2 separate regions of the Homo sapiens genome follow, and region 2 is linked to region 1. Evidence: promoter capture Hi-C in 16 types of primary human blood cells and fetal thymus (Javierre and others, 2016). All regions are on one chromosome and are shown on one strand. The core of a region is centred on a gene start or on the middle of the fragment in contact, and the rest is flanking DNA. Distances in the headings are between cores, read along the strand shown.

Region 1 (3,166 bases), core at 78-2,577:
GAATGTGATTGTATTTGGAGATCAGGCTTGTAAGAAGGTAATTAAGTTAAAATGAGGCCATTAAGGTGGGCCCTAATACAACCTGACTGACGTTCTCATAAAGAGGAAATCTGGATGCAAAGAGAGACGCCAGAGATGTGAAAACACAGAGGAAAGACCATGCGAGGACACAGCAAGAAAGCAGCCACGTGCAAGCCAAGGAGAAATGTCTCAGAAGAAACCAAACCTGAAGACACCTTGATCTTGGACTTCTAACCTCCAGAACTGTGAGAAAATAATAAATTTCTGTTGTTTAAGCCACCCAGTATTTTGTTTGCAGTCCTAGCAAACTAATACACCTTCTATTCCAGGCCCAACACTGCTCACTTTCAGAGTGAAACCTTATCACCCATATACACACACCTTGGGAGTGAAGGTTTCTCACAATACTCTGTGCATCCTCCACTCAACTTTCATTCATTCATTTAAGCAACAAACACCTAGTGACCACCACTGTGTGCCAGACCCTGTTTTAAGGGCTGAGAAGAGCTAACGTTTATTGAGTACTTACTAAGTGGCAGCCACTAGTCTAAGCGATTTACATGCACCAACTCATGAAATACGACAAGGTTCCAGGGACGCAGGTGCCGCTATGACATTCGCTTTACAGATGCGGGGCTGAGGCACAAAGAGGCCACACCGTAATGAAACTGAGCTAGGCTGTGGGCTCTGTCGTCTTAAGCGCTACTCTCAACTACAGCGTGGAAGGAAACAGAAGCCGAGAGATGGGCAGCGCGTAGCGGAGGCGGGCCGGGCTGGCTTCCAGCGGGCAAAGCCTGGAGATGAGAGGGCGCGGGTGGGGTTTCCAGGCCGAGGAAGCTGCACCAGGGAGAAGGCCCGGCTCCCAGGCCCGGAACCTGGCCGTCTGGGTCTCAGTCCGCGTCCCCTGTGATGCCCGGCACAGAGCAAATGCTCGCTGACTCTCGCAGGAGCCGCCAACCCCCCGGGTATCCTCGAGTGCCCAGAGACGGGAAGGAGCGGTGGGTCCATGCCCTTCTGGGCCACCTTCGGGCGCCCGGCCTCCCTTCCCTTCCGGGCCATTCCCACCAGCGCCAGCCCCGCACGCCTTCGCAAGGCCGGCCACCTTACCCTCGGAGGCCGCTCTCTGCCCCGCCGCCTACTCTTCACCTGCAGCAGCTGCCTTCAAGGCCACTCGCAGCGATCCGCTGGCCGCGGAATCATCACGACAACGCCCCCTTGGCTTGCCGGAACCGCCTTCCTGCTTCCGTTGGCGTCACTTCCACTGGGGGGGGCGTGGCCGCGGTGCGCAGGCGCGCTGGGTGGTTCAGAAGCGAATTCTGCACCGCGAAGCCTGAGAGGCAGGTAGCTGCGGCGCTGGGCTGGCGGCGGCGAGTCCACGTGCTCCCCGCGGCCGGTTGAAACCGTTGGCGGGCGCTGGCTGAGAGGTGAGGGGTGGTGGCCCAGAGGTCCGACCTGGGAGGCTGGGGCTCAGAGAGTGAGTAGGGGAGGGACGGGATTTCCACCGTCAGCCCCTCTGGGTTACGCATGGAGGAAGGAGTTCCATTCAGATCTCACTCCTGCTCTGGGGAAGTGGCAGGAGTCCTGGACTTAGGGTGACCAACTCGTTTTAGTTTTAAAACTTAAGGTCCGGCGTCCTGGGAACTCCCTCGGGCCTGGCCAAACCAGGACGATTGGTCACCGCCCGACTGGGCTTCAGGCTTGCTGCATGTTGGAGACAGGGCTCTTCTCTGAGCCTTGGGAGATCAGTCCCTAAAGAGGAGGCCTTAGGATGTAGCGGTCCAGAGCACATACTTAGGATCAGAATAACTACTGCGTGTGAATCTGGGTTGCCACTACCTGGATGTGGGATGACCTGGTGTAAGTTTTTTAACCTCTTTGCGCCTCACTTTCCTCATCTGTCATAACATATAGAATCTAACTCGGAGAACTGTGATGAGGATTACATGAGTAGAAATGTGTTAACCTCCTATGAGAGGGCTTGGGTGCTCCATGAATGTTAGGATTCTCTGAAGCACCTACCTCTGAGGAGAGAGGGAGGAGGATGAGGTGGGGTCTGTATTTGCAACCCTGATTTCTAGCAGAGAGGGCCCACTTGGGACTTACTCACACTGTGCCCGAGGCTCCCAGGGTCTAGCATAGTGCCTGACACATGGTAGTTACTCGAGTGAAGGGATGGTGTTTAAAACAGTGCTGGTGATGCCGTGGGTGGGGTAGGAGGCAGAGAGAAATGGCTTCTGTGCCTCAGTTTGCTCATCTGTTTAGTGGAGATAGGTGCACCTACTTCCCAGGGCTTTTGCAAGGAACAAGGGAGAGATTCTCTCCTTGTGAATGTCACCCATTGTAACCCTTGTCAGCCTCATACACAAAGGTTTAGGCAGGATGGTGGACAGAGTATGTTTGTCTGTCCTTCTCTTGCACCATACCCATGGTTTCTCAGAATGCTACCCGTGGAAGGGGCTTGAGTCTTGTCAAGTTGGCCTGACTTCTTGTTTCACAGATGAGATAACTTGAAGTTTATAGAGGCAGTGGCATGCTCAGGGTCACAGTGTTCAGTGGGGGATATCCTGGGGTTGCCAGCTAGGCCCCTCAGGTGGGCTGTTTGAGTGGTAGTGGTGGTAATGATGTGTAGGTCAGTGTCTGCATGTGCATGCAAGAATATTTTAAGAATAGTCAAGGCCAAGCGCAGTGGCCCGTGCCTGTCATCCGAGCACTTTGGGAGGCCGAGGAGGGTGGATCACCTGAGGTCAAGAGTTCACAACCAGCCTGGCCAACATGGTGAAACTCCGTCTCTACTAAAAATACAAAAATTAGCCGGGCATGGTGGCATGTGCCTGTAATCCCAGCTACTGGGGAGGCTGAGGCCGGAGAATCACTTGAACCTGGGAGGCAAAGGCTGCAGTGAGCCGAGATTGCGCCATTGTACTCCAGCCTGGGCAACAGAATGAGACTCCGTCTCAAAAAAAAAAAAAAAAAGAAAAAAAATTGAATAAGTAATACAAAAATATAGAGGGAAGAAGATTTAAAAAAAATCATTCCAATCTCAGAACCAAACCTAAGGGCATGTTATCAGGGAACTTGGTAAAGTAGGCAGCCATGGGGTGAGGAGCCAGAGAAGGTTGGAGTGAATTTATGAACATAAATGGGT
Region 2 (3,079 bases), core at 9-2,508, 1.5 Mb before region 1:
AAGAAAGGCAGCCAGTTAGAACGCTGACTCCATGCCCATCATGATGCCATAACTTACCCAATCGGATTAAATGAAAATGCAGCCAAAGGTGATCAAAACAATTTTTACTTTGACATGGGTTGTTAAGAAACCAATAAAACCCGTTTCCCTCCTTGGGTAGGAGGTCATCCAAGTGCCATGACCACAGCCATCCCTGGTCAAAGAAGGGACTGCCCAACACTTCAGGCTGGATGCCAATGGGGTGTGGAGGTAGGTCAAGGCTCATCTGGCCAAATGAGACACAAACAGGAAGGGTAACAGCCATGTGGCACCCCTGGTATCATCATGGCTTACTGCCCACAAATTACGTTCATATCTGTCATTTCTTGAACCTTCACATTTAATGCCTCTGAGGGGACTGATGATTTTCCTGCCCTGACTTTTGGCACACAGCAGCTGAGTGCATTTACCAAACCCAGCCACAGGCAACAGGTCCGGGGCCCAGTCATACCTGAGTGAGCCTGAGGTCTGGTCCCCGGAGGCAAGGTCCTCATTGTTGGGCACCCCCAGGTCCCCTCTTTCCTGGGGCAGGGGCTTCTTCCTTTTAGTCCTTAGGGGCTTCTCTGTAGAGGACAGATGAACCCAGGCATGGCTCTGTGACTTTAGACAAGTGACAACTTCTTGCAGCCTCACACCAACCCAGCCTGACATTTTTGAGCATGTTGTGTGGGCCAAGTGTATGCTTGGTATCTTATGCTATTGCAGCCACTCAACTAATGAGGAAACTGAGGCCTGGGAAGGTGACGTACTCTCCCAAGCCTGCACAAGCCAGGAAGTGGCAGAGCTGTGGCTTGAGCTCCAGTCTGCTAGGCTCCCGCTGGGTATCCACTCTACCCAGCTGACTGGAAGACTTAATGAAGCAGCAAGCAACTGAAAACCCAGCACCAGTGTGACAGCTTTTGTTTCAGTAGATCTCTGTGTTCTCACACCACCTTCTGAGTCACTCTCTCATTACCAGGTTAAAAAATCCTGTGATGTCACTGAAGTTGTCGCTGGCAAGGGTGGGAGGAGGGCTTATCCCCACTTTACAGATGGAAAAATGGAGTCAGTTAGGAGACACAGCCAGTGAACACCAGACCCAAGAACTGGAATTATCAAATGCTAGAGAGCAAGTGGGCCTGAGGGGTGGCCTAGCCAAGCCTGCTCATTTACAGACAAGGTCACAAAAGCCCAGAGAGCCTAGGCACGATGCCTAAGGTCACACAGCTAGTTAGTGGCCAGTGTGGAACTAGAATCCGTATCTCTCAGCCCAGAGTGCTTCCCGCTGCAACTCAAGCATCTGTGACTCACCTAGCAGCCCACGCTTAGCAGGCAACAGTTTGCTTTCAGCAAGGGGCACTCGGGCCAAGGCTGCCAGCTCGGAGATGAAGTTCTGTTCAGCTTCCTGAAATGCAAGCAGAGAGGAGCATTCAGCTGGGCCTCCCTCTGACTTCTCTAAATCCCTCTCCACGTGAGTGAATTCTGACACTTGAGGCTGGCCACTGAAGACCACGTCTCCCGTGTGGAGGAGAATTTTCCAACATACATCCCAGAGAGGAGAGGAGCAGGAGGACACACTGGCATCTACCAGCTCCTGCTGCATAACTGTGGGTCCTCACTCACACTGGCCGTCGGTCTTCAGTTGACAGAGTACACTGAGGTCAGAGGGCCTCAGTGACCTGCCCGGAGCAGGTGCAGCAGAATAGGATGGGACTCACTTCTGCCCGACTCCACAGGCTGGGCTCTAAACTTCCAACACTGTGGTGTAAACAAACACACCAGAATTCCATGATGCATTAACTGTGTGACCCTGGATAGCAACGTAACCTGTGCATGCCTCAGTTTGTCCATCTGTAATGGGGACAGTAGCAGTAACCTCTTTTGTTGGAAAGTGTGTGCAAAGCTCTCAGCTCATGACTATCTATCATAGACCCTCAATAAGTACCTATCGGCCACCACTGCTGTATTCTTACCACTGTCACTCTGCGACTGCCATCGCCAGTGGAGAACACTCTGAAAGGGCCAACACTCTGCTAAATGCTTCCATTCTGGAAGATTTGATTTTTTTAAAGGCAGCCACTTTGCTTAGCCACACTTTATACTCTCACCTTACATCTCACTGTATAACCTCACACAAATGGGATTTTCTGTAATGAAATATGCACTTTATATCATGAGAGCTGAGCTTCCTGTTTGCTGTAAATAAAGTGTAAACTTTAGCTATCGCCAACACTGCCTGAGTGACACAGAGGTCACCATTACACCGGAAGCCTCCTGGTGGCCATGCGCACACAGGGGAATGCTCAATTCTCTGTCAGCTCCATAGATGAGGCCTGACCAGCTGCTCAGGGCCTGGCCCTGCTTAGCATGCTGCAGCTGCTGTAGGGATCCACACAGGCCACACTTGCCCTCCAGGGGCTCAGGGTCCTAAGGCGAGGCCGACACACCCTCAGCAGGTGAGACTCAGCGGGTCAACGATGCCACAGGCAGGGAAGTGCAGTCCCCATGGCTGACGTGTGGTCACAGGCTGGCTTCAGCTATTTCTGCTCCTCTTTAAACCACTGCTTTTGGAAGGTCCAGTTCTGTAACTTGTACCTGTAGCTGGGTCTCCAGCTGGGCTTCCAGAAGGTCCATGACTCCTGCCTGCTGCTGCTGGGCGTGCAGACGCATCTGCTGGTGCACTGGGAACTGGGCCAGGAACCTCTTCTGCTGGGACAGCATCCTGGGGGGAGGAAGGCAGGCAGGCTGGCAGGGAGGAAGGAAGGGAGGGAGGGAGGGAGGGAGGGAGGGAGAAGGAAGGCAGGGAGGCTGCTGATCCCTGGGAGCCCCAAGAGGGGCCTGGCCATCGGGGGCACCATTCACAGCAGCCCCAGCTCCAGTCCCCACAGGCAGGCTGCCTCTCCATCAAAGTGGACGCCCTTTACAACACGGGAGTTTAGAGAGTCCTGCCCACACACTTTGCATGTGATCTTCGGAGGAGCTTCATGACACCAGCAGGACAGAGTAGAAAAGCTGGGGGGAAGAAACCCAGAGAGGTGGGGGCCTCCCTCAGGACACACGT

The links. The method cuts DNA at HindIII sites, captures the fragments that hold promoters and counts their contacts. A CHiCAGO score of 5 or more calls a contact.
Region 2: a fragment that was not itself captured here is called in contact with the fragment with the promoter of LYAR in region 1 in 2 of 17 cell types (naive B cells and total B cells); the score reaches 7.0 in naive B cells.

What each region holds. Positions count from the first base shown.
Region 1 is chr4:4,288,315-4,291,480 of GRCh38, reverse strand. It overlaps LYAR (Ly1 antibody reactive), which reads left to right and starts at 1,327. Exons shown (of 10, transcript NM_017816.3): 1 at 1,327-1,445. It overlaps ZBTB49 (zinc finger and BTB domain containing 49), which reads right to left and starts at 1,230. Exons shown (of 8, transcript NM_145291.4): 1 at 1,129-1,230. RefSeq lists enhancers at 2,302-2,839, 2,840-3,166. The HindIII fragment of the contact is 4,525 bases long and covers 1-3,166 here.
Region 2 is chr4:5,807,862-5,810,940 of GRCh38, reverse strand. It overlaps EVC (EvC ciliary complex subunit 1), which reads right to left. Exons shown (of 21, transcript NM_153717.3): 18 at 2,614-2,740; 19 at 1,330-1,423; 20 at 491-602. Among named protein-coding and RNA genes, the nearest start is that of CRMP1, 84 kb to the left of the region's middle. The HindIII fragment of the contact is 3,963 bases long and covers 1-3,079 here.